Linked DNA regions of Homo sapiens: region 1 is linked to region 2. The links are contacts of gene promoters, found by promoter capture Hi-C in blood cells and fetal thymus (Javierre and others, 2016). All regions are on one chromosome and are shown on one strand. Each heading gives the region's core, a stretch centred on a gene start or on the middle of the fragment in contact. The rest is flanking DNA. Distances are from core to core; before and after follow the strand shown.

Region 1 (7,258 bases), core at 815-3,314, 270 kb after region 2:
GGTTGCAACCCGAGCTGCACACCAAGGAGCAGATTTTGGAGCTTCTGGTGATGGAGCAGTTCCTGACCATCCTGCCCCCGGAGATCCAGGCTCGGGTCAGGCATCGATGTCCAATGAGCAGCAAGGAGATTGTGACCCTCGTGGAAGATTTTCACAGAGCATCCAAGAAACCAAAGCAGTGGGTAAGGAGGGTCCTCTCCCATCATCCTGGGGATTTCTTTTTCTTTTCTTTTTTTTTTTTTTTCTTTTTTTGAGACGGAATCTTGCTCTTTCGCCCAGGCCCGAGTGCAGTGGCGCTATCTCGGCTCACTGCAAGCTCCGCCTCCCGGGTTCACGCCATTCTCCTGCCTCAGCCTCCCGAGTAGCTGGGACTACAGGCGCCCGCCACCGCGCCCGGCTAATTTTTTGTATTTTTAGTAGAGACAGGGTTTCACCGTGTTAGCCAGGATGGTCTCGATCTCCTGACCTCGTGATCCGCCCGCCTCGGCCTCCCAAAGTGCTGGGACTACAGGTGTGAGCCACCGTGCCCGGCCGATTTCTTTTTCATCTGGGTAATGTTTGGTATCTGGATCTCTCCCTATTTAAGTCTCAGAAGTGGACTGGATGGCTTCAGAAGTTGCTTCCAGCCTCTATCTGGGAACCTATCCTGAGTTATTAACAGGTTTTTAGAAAATCCAACTACTGATACCCAGTGAGGCAACAGAGGACCAAGGTTCTTACCATTCCTTTATGCACCTTGTGTCACCAGAAGTAATTGTAAGGTTCTTAAATCCCTTCTGTCAGCTCTTCCCCCACCCAACTTAGTTTTCCTACTAGCAGAATTCTTAGCAGATAGGGTCACCCTGTTGGGTAGCAGTTGGACTTTGGGGAACTTCATTTCATTGGAAGTTCTAGCTTATTGTCTTTCCAGTGTTTAGCTTATAGTCTTTTTTTTTTTTTTTTTTTTTTTTTTTTTTTTTTTTTGAGATGGAGTCTTGCTGTGTTTCCCAAGCTGGAGTGCAGTGGTGCCATTTCAGCCCACTGCAACCTCTGCACCCCAGGTTCAAGCGATTCTCAGGTCTCAGCCTCCTGAGTAGCTGGGTTTACAGGTGCCTGCCACCACGCCCAGCTAATTTTTGTACTTTTTAGTAGAGAGGGGGTTTCACTATGTTGGCCAGGCTAGTCTCGAACTCCTGACCTCAAGTGATCCTCCCGCCTTGGCCTCTCAAAGTGCTGGGATTACAGGCGTGAGCCACCACACCTGGCCTAGCTTTTTGTCTTTGATTTTTTTTTTTTTTTTTGAGACTGGGTCTCACTGTGTTGCTGAGGCTGGAGGGCAGTGGCACGATCTCAGCTCGCTGCAACCTCCATGTCCAGCTCAAGTGTTCCTCACACCTCAGCCTCTCAAGTAGCTGGGACTGCAGGTACATGCCACCATGCGTGGCTAATTTTTGTACTTTTGTAGAGACAGGGTTTCTCCACATTGCCCAGGCTGGTCTTGAACTCTTCTTGGGCCCAGGCGATCCGCCCGTCTTGACCTCCCAAAGTGCTGGGATTACAGGAGTGAGCCACACAATGCCTGACTAGCTTATTGTCTTTGGATCAGGAAGTTACAGTTCAACTGGCCAGCGTTGCCATTGCTTGCCACTCCCCGCCCCGAAGTCAGACCCCAGTCAGGACCTAGGCAAGAAGCAAACGGCAGGTACTTCGGAAAATAGAACTTGTTAGGGAATGAAGGTGGGGTGGTCCTCTTAGACCCCTACTACTACTGGGATCTCCTTACCAGGAAAGCCTTTGGCAGAACAATGTATTAGGTAAGAAGGACTTTTAACAGCCCCTCACCATACTGCTTCCTGTTCCTACAGGGCCTATTTCCAGCAGAAGTAGGTGGGGGGTGGTGTGTAGAGTAGGCATCTGATGGCCCAGTGTTGTGACTGACCCTGATATTTGTGCCAGCAACTACCCTGATGACTTTGACTCTGGCCCTTGAGAAAGGCCCAAGCTTTAGGGGAAGCCACTCGGCTGATTTGTAGCATCCTCATTCCTGTCATTCTTCACGTTCTCCCCTTTACTTCCTTTGAGGGTTTCAGTGGTTTCTATGAAAGTTGACCTCTAGATGGTTATCAGCAATTCCCAAGGTAAACGGGTCATTATACAACAGTGAGAGATCAAGCTTCCCTCAGTCCTGATGGATGGAATTAATGGATGGGGCTTGTTCCTAGGTGGCCGTTTGTATGCAGGGGCAAAAGGTGCTCTTGGAGAAAACTGGATCTCAGCTTGGAGAACAGGAACTGCCAGACTTTCAACCGCAGACTCCTAGGAGAGATCTCAGGGAGAGCTCTCCAGCAGAGCCTTCCCAGGCAGGAGCTTATGACCGGCTGAGCCCCCATCATTGGGAGAAATCCCCACTCCTCCAAGAACCAACCCCCAAATTGGCTGGGACAGGTAAACACTCTGCCTTTTCTCTCCCTCTCATCAGCCCTTTATCTCCATCAATGTATCTCATGGTTCTGCAAAGGCATAGACCACATGTGTGTGTTTTTTTAAATGTTATATATAATAGTAGATGATTATTCACTAAACAAATTTCACTAATTAGGATGGTGGTGATACTACAAGTAAGTATGTTTTTATCGTTTTCTGTTAATGAAAATTTAAGAATCCAGTGCATGACAGGGTTGTACCTACTTTTCTGTCCGTTTCAGAACTTCTTATAGAAAAGACAGATCCAAATATGGCCACAGATGAACTTCCATGCAAGCTATGGCTGAGTTTCATTGCTTAAAATGCTCCTCTGTTTAGAGGGGCCTGGTAGAAATAAAAACCCACCCTATATCTTATATCTTTGTCCTCCTCTGTGATGTTGCTTGTACTTTAGATCCTCAAATCTATTTCCCTTTCTCTGGTGTGATACTTGTGTAACTGCTGGCCTTGTTCTACACAGTCCTGTGATCTCTAAGCCTGAATGACAGTGACATTTTGGCCAAGCCTGGTGATGTGAATACAAGATACAGTGAGCACGTTAGGGAGGAGGGTTACAAGACGACAAAAATCCTCAGTTTCTTAATATTTGCTACATCCAATGAGGTACTTCGTGTTTTAGTCTGTTCAGGCTGCTAATATAAAATGCTAGAGACTAGGTAGTTTATAAACAACAGGAGTTTATTTCTCACAGTTCTAGAGGCTAGGAAGTCTGAGTTCAAGGTGCCAGCATGGTTGGGTTCCAGTGAGGCCCCTCTTCCAGGTCACAGACTGCCTACTTCTCAGTCCTCATGTGGCAGAAGGGGAAGACAGGCTCCCGTGGGGCTCTTTCATGAAGGCACTAATCCCATTCCAGTGAGGGCAGCACCCTCATGACCTAATCACCTCCCAAAGGCCCCATGTCCTAACACTATTACCTTGGGAGTTAGAATTTCATATGAATTTGGAGGAACATAAACATTTAGCCCCTGGCAACCACAGTCTACTTTTTGTCTCTAGAATTGCTTATTCTGAACATTTTATACAAATGGAATCACACAGGCCGGGCACAGTGGCTCACGCCTGTAATCCCAGCACTTTGGGAGGCCAAGGCAGGCGGATCACTTAGGCTCAGGAGTTCGAGACCAGCCTGGGCAACATGGCGAAATCCTGTCTCTACAAAAAATGCAAAAATTAGCGGGGCATGGTGCTGCACACCTGTAATCCCAGCTGCTTGGGGGAGCTGAGGCAGGAGGATCACTTCAACCTGGGAGGTCGAGGCTGCAGTGAACTGAGATCGTGCCACTGCACTCTAGCCTATGTGACAAAGTAAGACCCTGTCTCAAAAATAAATAAATAAATAAATTGAATCACACAATATGTGGTCTTTTGTGTGTGGCTTCTTTCACTGAGCATGTTTTCAAGTTTTATCCATGCTGTAGCATCAATCAGTGCTTCATTCCTTTTCTGTGGCTGAATAATAGGCATTGTACGGATATATTACATGTTGGTTTTCTGTTCATGTTGGTTCATCTGTTCATAGATTTTTGGGTTGTTTCTACTTTTTGGTTATTATGAAGAATGCTGCTATAAATGTGTGTTTTTGTGTAGACATGTTTTCATTTCTCTTGAGTATATACCTAGGAGTGGAATTACCATATGCTAGGTCATGTGGTAATTCCATGTTTAACTTATGAGGAACTACCAGACTGTTTTCCAAAGCAGCTACACCATTTTACATCCCCACCAATACTGTGTGAGGATTCCGATTTCTCCACATTCTTGCTAGCACTTGTTATTGTCTTATACCCATCCTATTCGGTGAGAAATTTTGATTTGAGGTTTTGATTTACATTTCCCTAGTGACTAATGGTGTTGAACATCTTTTCATGTGCTTATTATCCAGTTACATATCTTGTGTGGAAAAATATCTGTTCAGATCCTTTGGTCATTTTTAAATTAGGTTATTTGTCTTTATTTTTTATAAGAGTCCTTTATGTATTCTAGATACTAGACCCTTATGTGTAATTTGCAAATCTTTTCTCTCATTTTGTGGGTTGTCTCACTTTCTTGACAGTGTCCTTTGACGCACACGTTTTTCATTTTGCTGCAGTCTAATTTATCTATTTTTTTCTTTCTTTATGCTTTGGTGTCATATGTAAAATAGCACTGCCTAATCCAAGGGCACAAATATGTACAGCTATGGTTTCTTCAAGGAGACATAGATTTAGCTCTTACTTTCAGCTATTTGGTCCATTTTAAGTTTATTTTTTCCCCATACATAAACAAGTCAATTTTTATATAGGTTTTGAGGTAGGGGTCTGTCAATCTGATCAGGGGTCTGTCTTAATCTGATCAGGCTCTTACAACAAATTGCCTTAGACTAGGTAATTTATAAACAACAGAAATTTGTTGCTCATAGTTCCTGGATACTGGGAAGTTCAAGATCAAGGTGCCAGCAGATTTGGTGTCTGGCGAGGGCCCATTCCTCATAAATGGTGCCTGCTATGAGTCCCCACATGGTAGTCTCTTGGGTTTCTTTTATAAGGACACTAATCCCATTTATGAGGACCCCACCCTCATAACCTAATCACCTCCCAGATGCCCCACCTCCCAAGACCACTGCACTGGGGACTGTCAATATATGTGTGTCAGGGGACAGGGGGGATAAACATTCAGACCATAGCAGGGTCCAACTTCATTCTCTTGTATGTGGAAATCCAGTAGTCCTAGAATCCTTTATGAAAAAGACTATTCTTTTCCCATTGAATTGTCTTGTCAAAAAGCAATTGACCCTGATTGTATAGGCTGATTATTTACATTTGAATTTAAATGAATTAAAATTAAAAAAAAATTTAAAATTAAGTTCCTTAGTCACAGTAGTCACATTTCAAGTACCCAGTAGCCACATAGTCACATGTGGCTAGTGGCTGCCATATTGAACAACGTGCATGTGCCTGTGCATGCACGTGTGCACACACACATTTTCCACATCACAAGGGATCCTTCTCCAGATCCTGTGATTTCCCATAGGCCGTTCCAGCTCATCTCCATCCAGACTGTCAATCCTTCTGTAATTAGGATACATGGCTAAGCCCTGATTCCAGTTTCTGAACTCATATACTGTCAAATTTGTAATGAAAGAAAACATCACAGTCTCTGAACTTACCATCTTTTGAAGAGAAGGTGGTTGTCAATTAGTGTTTACTAAGTGAGGGGTATTTGTTGAAATAGCTCAGGCATTGGACTACAGCAGTAAAATTTGCAATGTTGAGATTTCACCTCTCTTCCTTCTTCATTAGATACCCAATTCTGATGGGTTTGCTTTTCCCTGTTCTTCATTTCCTAAACCTTTCCCTAAAGGGAGAAAGGAAGAAGGAGGATGGAGAACTTGGTTCCTAAATTTAATATAAATCACAGTCACCCCAGGAGCCTGCTAACTGTGCAGATTATCAGGCCCAACCCCCCGAGATTCTGACCCAGCAGCTCTGGGGGAAGGGTGAAGAGCCTGCTTGTTTAACAAGTGCTCCAGATGAGTCTAATGCAAGTTGCCAGCGGAGGGCCACCCTTTGAGAAACCTCTCAGAGTATTTCATAACTCTTGCTGAAGTTATTTCTTCCAAGTGCAGAAAATGAAGCATTTTCTTTCTAATTATAGAGGCCCCCAGAATGAGAAGTGACAACAAGGAAAATCCACAACAGGAAGGGGCTAAAGGAGCAAAGCCATGTGCAGTGTCAGCTGGCAGATCCAAAGGGAATGGTCTGCAGAATCCTGAACCAAGAGGGGCAAATATGAGTGAACCTCGGTTGTCACGGAGGCAGGTCAGCTCCCCAAATGCTCAAAAGCCATTTGCTCACTACCAGAGACATTGCAGGGTGGAATACATCAGCAGCCCCCTAAAAAGCCACCCACTGAGAGAGCTAAAGAAAAGCAAAGGAGGTAAACGGAGTCTGAGCAACCGTTTGCAACATCTTGGTCACCAGCCCACCCGCTCAGCAAAGAAACCCTACAAATGTGATGACTGTGGGAAAAGCTTCACGTGGAATTCAGAGCTGAAGAGACACAAGAGAGTCCACACAGGAGAGAGACCCTACACGTGCGGAGAGTGTGGAAACTGCTTTGGGCGGCAGTCAACCCTGAAGCTGCACCAGAGGATCCACACTGGAGAGAAGCCATACCAGTGTGGCCAGTGTGGGAAAAGCTTTCGCCAGAGCTCAAACCTTCACCAGCATCACCGACTTCACCATGGGGACTAAAAGGAGCACTCCATGCTTTAGATTCACACGGAAGGTGTTTGTGTTTCTCCTCCCCCTTACTTGCATGTAAATCACAAAAACTGTGTGACTTACAAGGAAAGCACGAGGCCCTTGAGGAATGATGATGCACATTCTGCTGTGAGGAGGCCCAGAAAAGGCCAACCAGGGCCCAACCGTGCATGATGACAGGGTGAAGAGAAGGCAGGTCTGGGCACTGGGGCAAAGAGAACTTAAGTCTCTGCAGAGAGCAAGGAGTAACTACTGAGAGAGAATCAGGACAATCCTGCAGGTGGCCCGCTTACTGTTAAATCGTCCCTCTGTTGCTTTATCCTCTAAAATATGTTAAGGGATAAATTCTATATATATAGTTATGCATTTGCTGTCATACCAGACAATTTTTTATCATGAGCACACTTCTTTAATAAAGATGAGTGATCTACCAGAATTTCAAGGCAAAGTTAATTGGAAAATAGATCCCTCATATTCTTTCTGTAATTACTAGCTGTTTATAGCAAAGGATGAATTAAATGAGAATATGCACGTTTGTGCGAGAAGAGTTTCCA
Region 2 (6,851 bases), core at 1,068-3,567:
GAATTTCTCCCATTGGGCTGTTGCACAGAATGAGCGCAAGACGTAAAAGACTTAGCTCAATGCCTGGCATATAAACACTCTATACATGGTAACTATCATGATTTAAAAGTTTAATAGGATGGGTGCAGTGGTTCTCACCTGTAATCCCAGCACTTTGGAAAGCTGAGGCAGGCGGATCCCTTGAGGTCTGGAGTTCAAGACCAGCCTGGCTAACCTGGTGAAACCCCATCTCTACTAAAAATACAAAAATTAGCCTGGTGTGGTGGCGTGCACCTGTAATCCCAGCTACTAGGGAGGCTGAGATGGGAGGATCGCTTGAACCTGGGAGGTGGAGGTTGCAGTGAGCCATGAAATTGCACTACCGCACCAAAAAAAAAAAAAAAAAATTTAATTACTGTGGACCTTATGGGGACGCTACATCAAGCTGTTTCCCAATTGAATTGGAATGCCACAACAACGGCTGAACACTGTAAATGTCCAAATCTGGAGGAACAGAGGAAGGTAAACATTTGATTCTCAAGTGGAAGTTCAAAGCATTACATTCTTTCTGGAGGACAGTTTGGAAACATGTACACAAAGTAATCTGGCAATTCCATTTCTAGTTTTTCTCAGGGAAATGTTCAAGCAAATGAATAAAGGTGTACGTAGAAGCATATCTGCAAATACAGAAAGATGGAAAAAATCTAAATGTCCAAGGGTGGGGGACTTAAAATATGAAAATTCCGCCAGGCACGGTGGCTCACGTCTGTAATCTCAGCACTTTGGGAGGCCGAGGCGGGCAGATCACCTGAGGTCAGGAGTTCGAGACCAGCCTGACCAACACGGAGAAACCCCGTCTCTACTAAAAATACAAAATTAGCCGGGCGTGGTGACACATGCCTGTAATCCTAGCTACTCGGGAGGCTGAGGCAGAAGAATCGCTTGAATCCAGGAGGCGGAGGTTGCAGTGAGCCAAGATCGCGCCACTGCAGTCCAGCCTGGGTGACAGAGCGAGACTCTGTCTCAAAAAAAAAAAAAAAATATATATATATATATATATATATATATACACACATATATAATATATATTCACAGGCATATAACTGTCTGAACAGTAAAACTGTAAGAACACACTAAAACATGAATAGTACTTATTCCTGGATGGTCGTATTAGAAATGTTTTTTACCTTCATTCATTAAACAAATATTTACTAAGCATCTACCATGTGCCAGGCACAATTCTAGGTGCTTGTCATAGGGCATTAAAAAGTGTCTGCCCTCATGAACACTTATCGTTGAGTCGTGGGAAACACGTATATGTCAGGTAGTGATAAACATTAGGGAGAAAAGTTAACGCCGAGCACAGGTTGTTTACAGAGCTGGGGAAGGCCTCCTTGAGGGGGTGACATATGAGCAGAATGAGGGAGCAAGCCTTGTGGCTATCACGAGAAAGCTATCTTTATGGTTTTCCAATTAATTTTCTAAATTTTCTCTTCCAAGCATGCAACACCTACATAATTAAGACAAAACAAACCAAAAAAACTCTTTCCATTTATGAAAGAGATCTGGAGCCTGAAATCATCTCCGGGTCGAGGCGTGGAGAGAGTGGGAGAGGATCCGAGGGTATGGAAAGGACCCCGAGCCCCCCTGCTCTAGATCCCTCCGGGCCGTGGGACCCCTGACGCCCAGCAGCAACTCGTGGACAAAGCAGCTGGTGAGAGAACGCGGGACTCCGGCCAGGTCAGTGTCCCGCTTGCCGCGTCCTGCTAAGGCGACCCGAAGACAGAGGATCGCCGCAGGAGGCTCCGCGCCCCTTACCCGAGGGCACTTCCCAGCAAGCTCGACGCCTCTCCAGGGAATTGGGAGGAGCGGGACCCAAGAGGCTAGAAAAGAGTCTCCCCGGCCCGAGCTCCACGGCCCGCGGCCTTTCGGCCCTCACCTACTAGTTGGCAAAGAAAGACCGTGGCAGAAGGAAGAGGCCGCTCCAGCGCATCCCTTCGGGCGGAGCAGAAGCTCCACTTGTGGCTAGGCCATGTGCCCTCTCCGTTCCTCGGGCCAGCCTTGGCTTCCCCTTTTTGTCGCTCAAGGGCCAGGGTCGCAAGGAAATGTGAAAAAAAAGCGGAGACAAAAGAGAACGAGGTAAATCTAGATGCAGAGCCTCGCCTTTCCTCCCGGGTGCAGGTGTATGACGCGTATGGAGTTTCTGTCTTCTAATAGGCAGCCTGAGAATTCTTCCTGTTCATTGGCCATCGGTCATGGAGAAGGCGGGCTCAGTGGACGAACGGCTTTCTGGGAGCTGGGGAATGCTTGCGTAGCGTAGTTTCCCAGCGAGCCCCGCGAGGACTTCCGGCGCCGGGAGCTCGCGGCGGAAGTGGGATCTCCTGGGCCGTAGTGGGCGTTGTGTGTTTCGGGGGCGGGGGCGGGGGCGGGGGCCGGGGCGGGGACGGGGCCTCTGGCCGCCTGGCTCCAACATCAAGCACCGGGCTCCGAGTGGCCGGGATCAGCGCCCCGAGGCAGAGGCCGGAGGGCGCGCGCACTGCTAGGAAGTGCTGGTCCCCCGCGCCGCTCTGCCAGCTTGGTCCCCCGGCAGACGCCCCTGTACGATCGCCGCTCGCCCCGCGGGCGAGGCTGCGGTGGACAGCGCGGGGCTCCGGCTGGCTCGCCTTCCCGCCTGCCGTGTCCTGCTGAGCGACCCTGGTGAGTCCTGGCCCTCTTCGAGGAAAGTCTTCTTCGAAGTCACCAGAGGATGAGAATGGTGCGCGCACCTTTCAGGGGTCTTGTGAGGAGCAGAATAAATAAAGTGCTTAGGATGGACTAAAGAATTGGAAACAACCCGAATGCATCACTCGAGTATTGATTAAGAAACTAGAGCATATCCATACCGCGGAAGCTCATAGTGCCGCTAATGTCTGTGCAGTAAGGTCTCATTTATGTAGAAACACATCAAGCACCTTTTCTCCCCGCTATGGATGACTTTTTTAGTAAAAGCACAGGAAAAGGTCTGGGACGTCATTTGTCAGACTGTTAAGTCGGGGGGTACAATGGTATTGAGGAAGGGAGAGTTTTACAGATTTCTATATTGTTTGAATCTTCCCTTTTTTATTAAGATGGTTTGTATTTTTTTCATTTTCTTTTTACTTTTCTTTTCTTTCTTTTTTTTTTTTTTTTGAGATGGTCTCACTCTGTTGCCCAGGCTGGAGTACAGTGGTGCGATCATAGCTCATTGCAACCTCAAACTCCTGGACTCAAGCAATCTTTCCTCCTCAGCCTCCCCAGTAGCTGGGACTACAGGAGCCCCACCTGGCTTTTTTTGTTTTTTGGTACAGATGGCGTCTCACATTGTCTTCCCAAAGGGGTCTTGAACCCCTGGCCTCAAGCAATCATCCTGTGTCTGTCTCCCAAAATGCTGGGATTACAGGCATAAGCCACCAAGCCCGGCCAGTTTGTATTTTTATTGTTGAAACAAAAAATCGATTACTGAAAATTGCATAATACACTTTTCAGTAGAGAGTAACAATGTAAGGTATAAATGTGTCATACATTTATATGTACCTGTGGATAAATGGCTTTGGATGGTGTCTGTAAGCCCTTCTGTGACACCTCAGGGCCAGATGTGTTTTGGAATTCAGAGGTTTTCAAATTTGAGAAAGATAATATAGTGCACAGACGATATATCAAGCACATCTCCAGAGGGATCTGGGGCAACACTAAATAATGAAACATATCAGTTAAAATTTTTTAATTAGGCCGGGCGCAGTGGCTCACGCCTGTAATCCCAGCACTTTAGGAGGCCGAGGCGGGTGGATCACAAGGTCAGGAGTTTGAGACCATCCTGGCCAACATGGTGAAACCTCGTCTCTACTAAAAATACAAAAAATTAGCTGGACGTGGTAGCTGGTGCCTGTAGTCCCAGCTACTTGGGAGGCTGAAGCAGGAGAATCGCTTGAACCTGGCAGGCAGAGGTTGCAGTGAACTGAGATTGCGCCACTGCACTCCAGCCTGGGCGACAGAGTGAGACTCTCTCTCAGTAAAAAAAAAAAAAAAAGATATTTAATTGATGTATAATGTGCAATACAGAAAAACACACGAGTGGGTATAGCTCAATGAAATTTTATAAACTGAAGATATATGTTATTAATATTTCCACCATAATTTTGAACATTTACATTTAGTGGAATAAATTGAGATTATAAATATGCTTATATCAGGTCAGGTGGTGCTGCCAAATGAATGACATTGGGTTTTGCTGTCAAAGAGTTATGAAACACCCGGGTTTTGGATTTCTGGCTTTGGGATGAGAGCTTGTGGGCCTGTGTTAATAGGAGAGACAGTCACATGAGCAAGGCATTACAGTAAAGCCTAGAAAAGGCTTCAGGGCCATGAAAGGATGGGGACTGGATGGCTCTTCAGCCTGGGGTTTGCTCGTGTATTCCACATCCTTCCTCCTCAGTCCTGCCATTTTGCTCTTTCCCCAGGAGTACACATCCAGATGCCAGCCCAGCTACCACAGGGGATCCCTCTGGGAGACTGAAAGTACAGGTTCTGGGGCCCAGGTTGAAGCCGACCAACCCTGAGCCTCAGGCCAGGGGAATGGCAGCCCCCTTGGAGGCCCAGGACCAGGCCCCTGGGGAGGGAGAAGGGCTTCTGATTGTGAAAGTGGAAGATTCCTCCTGGGAACAGGAATCTGCCCAGCATGAGGATGGCAGGGATTCCGAAGCCTGCCGCCAGCGCTTCCGGCAATTCTGCTACGGGGATGTGCATGGGCCTCATGAGGCCTTCAGCCAGCTCTGGGAGCTCTGCTGCCGCTGGCTGCGGCCCGAGCTGCGTACCAAGGAGCAGATCCTGGAGCTGCTGGTGCTGGAGCAGTTCCTGACAGTGCTGCCAGGGGAGATCCAGGGCTGGGTGCGTGAGCAGCACCCGGGAAGCGGTGAGGAGGCTGTCGCCTTGGTGGAGGACCTACAGAAGCAGCCAGTGAAAGCCTGGCGACAGGTGAGGGGCCCTTCCACATCCAGGGGCACCTGGATGGTATCTGAGCTCGAGAGAAGTGGGTAACCTGCAGAGATAAGTCTCCCAGAGGCTCACAGGGTAGGGGAGACACAGAGCCCCCAGGAGCAGGCACACAAGCACAGTGTGCCATGGGTGCCTTTCTGAAAGATGCGATCCAAAGTAAATGTGATTTATTTTTTGTGGCTTTGGAAGGCAGCAATAGGGCTGAAGTGCGAATGTTCCAGACAGGAGGTTTTAGCTCCATGCAGGGTCTGCTGATGTTTATTTGCATTTTGCTCTAGGCCTGGCTCTGGGGACACAAGGGTGTGCATAGAGCCAGCTCCAGAGTGGGGCGAGAAGGTGGAGCTGTCCGGGGCCTCTGCTACCTTGTGGGATGTTGGGTCCTTCACATTGGATGCATCTGGGGAGGTTCTAATGAGTGGCTGGGGGATGGGGTTCTGCCTTTGGCAGGAGGGTCCCCAGCTACCCCCTTGCTAAGTGGCTGTGATTCTGGCCTTTCAGGGCTGGTTCTTGCCTCGTGAATGATCGGGGAGCATCCTTGGGCACACAGCATTACCTGGTATCACATTCTCCTCCGGACTTTTCCTGGGGCACCATATTGGTCTCCTTCCCACACCCCAGCATCCTGAGGGTCATGTCCTGTGTCTCCTTCCCAGGGAGTAAACTCTGTCTCCCCCGGTCTGGTCTCGGGCTGATGAGCATGTTGTGGTTCCTGCACAGGATGTGCCCTCGGAGGAGGCGGAACCCGAGGCTGCAGGCCGGGGATCCCAGGCCACGGGGCCTCCCCCGACGGTGGGGGCACGGAGGCGGCCGTCTGTTCCCCAGGAGCAGCACAGCCATAGCGGTGAGTAAGCCTCCGTTCTTGTGGACAGTCGAGTGGCTGGGCAGGGACCTAGCTTTGTCACCGGCGTTGCCCTAAGGGTCACAGGCAGGACAGCTCCCTCTGTGAAGTCCAGGGCGTGTGTGCATGCGCACAGGCTGGGGAGGCCATAGGCGTCGGTGTCAAGCCTGGGCTGGCCTTTCTAAGGCTCCATTCTTCTCCTTCAGCCCAGCCTCCTGCTCTTCTTAAAGAGGGTCGTCCCGGAGAGACGACGGACACCTGCTTTGTCTCTGGGGTCCATGTGAGTCACCAGTCCCTTTGTCTTCTTTAAGGCACTTGGCCCTGTTGAGTTTGTAAAATGGGACTTGCTGTCCCATCAGGCCTCTTTCATCTGACCCATCCTGTCCCCGCCAGTGCTGCTGGGAGGCCTGAGCCGGGTCTTCTCACCCCATTCCAGGGACCTGTGGCATTGGGAGACATCCCATTCTATTTCTCCCGGGAAGAATGGGGCACCCTGGACCCTGCTCAGCGGGATCTCTTCTGGGACATAAAGCGGGAGAACTCCCGGAACACCACCCTGGGTAAGCACCCAGGGCCTTTGGGTCCAGGCTGGCCGCCCCCGATTCTGCTGGAACTTCAGTCTTGTTTCCCACCCCATCCTTAGCTGGTTCCAAAGCAGGCTCTCCCTAGGTCTTGCCAGGAGCCTGAGTAACTCCTTTCTTGGCTGATGATCAGTTTTTGTGCGTTTCCACATGCAGCATGGGACGGCGCCGGCGCTGCCCAGCCCTGCAGTTGCTCTAAGGGCAACTTCTCCTTTGAGTCTCACAACCTAGTGCATGGAAGTATTGTCCCCATTTTACGCATAAGGGACCTGAGACTCAGGTCAGTGGATGCTGAAGGGACACAGCTGGGACTTGGATCAGGCACAGTTGTGAGGCCACCTTGGGCTGCTAGGAGCAGGGGTGCTGACGGGGAACCCCAGCTGCTCACCAGCCTGGGCCCCTGCTCGTCAGAACTGCACTTACCAGGTTCCTCTCCATGCCAG

Evidence for each region. Contacts are between HindIII fragments. The CHiCAGO score rates a contact against its expected background, and 5 or more counts as called.
Region 1: a contact is called between a fragment that was not itself captured here and the fragment with the promoter of ZNF213 in region 2, in 2 of 17 cell types (naive CD8 T cells and total CD8 T cells). The highest score is 5.7, in naive CD8 T cells.

The regions. Positions count from the first base shown.
Region 1 is chr16:3,402,225-3,409,482 of GRCh38, forward strand. ZNF174 (zinc finger protein 174) reads left to right here. Exons shown (of 3, transcript NM_003450.3): 1 at 1-182; 2 at 2,202-2,424; 3 at 6,097-7,140. The coding sequence ends at 6,695. Among named protein-coding and RNA genes, the nearest start is that of ZNF174, 4.6 kb to the left of the region's middle. The HindIII fragment of the contact is 171 bases long and covers 1,980-2,150 here.
Region 2 is chr16:3,132,712-3,139,562 of GRCh38, forward strand. It overlaps ZNF213 (zinc finger protein 213), which reads left to right and starts at 2,318. Exons shown (of 6, transcript NM_004220.3): 1 at 2,318-2,676; 2 at 4,455-4,968; 3 at 5,707-5,830; 4 at 6,034-6,107; 5 at 6,264-6,387. The coding sequence starts at 4,570. ZNF213-AS1 (ZNF213 antisense RNA 1) reads right to left here and starts at 2,171. Exons shown (of 6, transcript NR_110900.1): 1 at 1,919-2,171; 2 at 139-231. RefSeq lists enhancers at 1,899-2,068, 2,079-2,268, 5,753-6,253 and a silencer at 2,379-2,608. The HindIII fragment of the contact is 14,017 bases long and covers 1-6,851 here.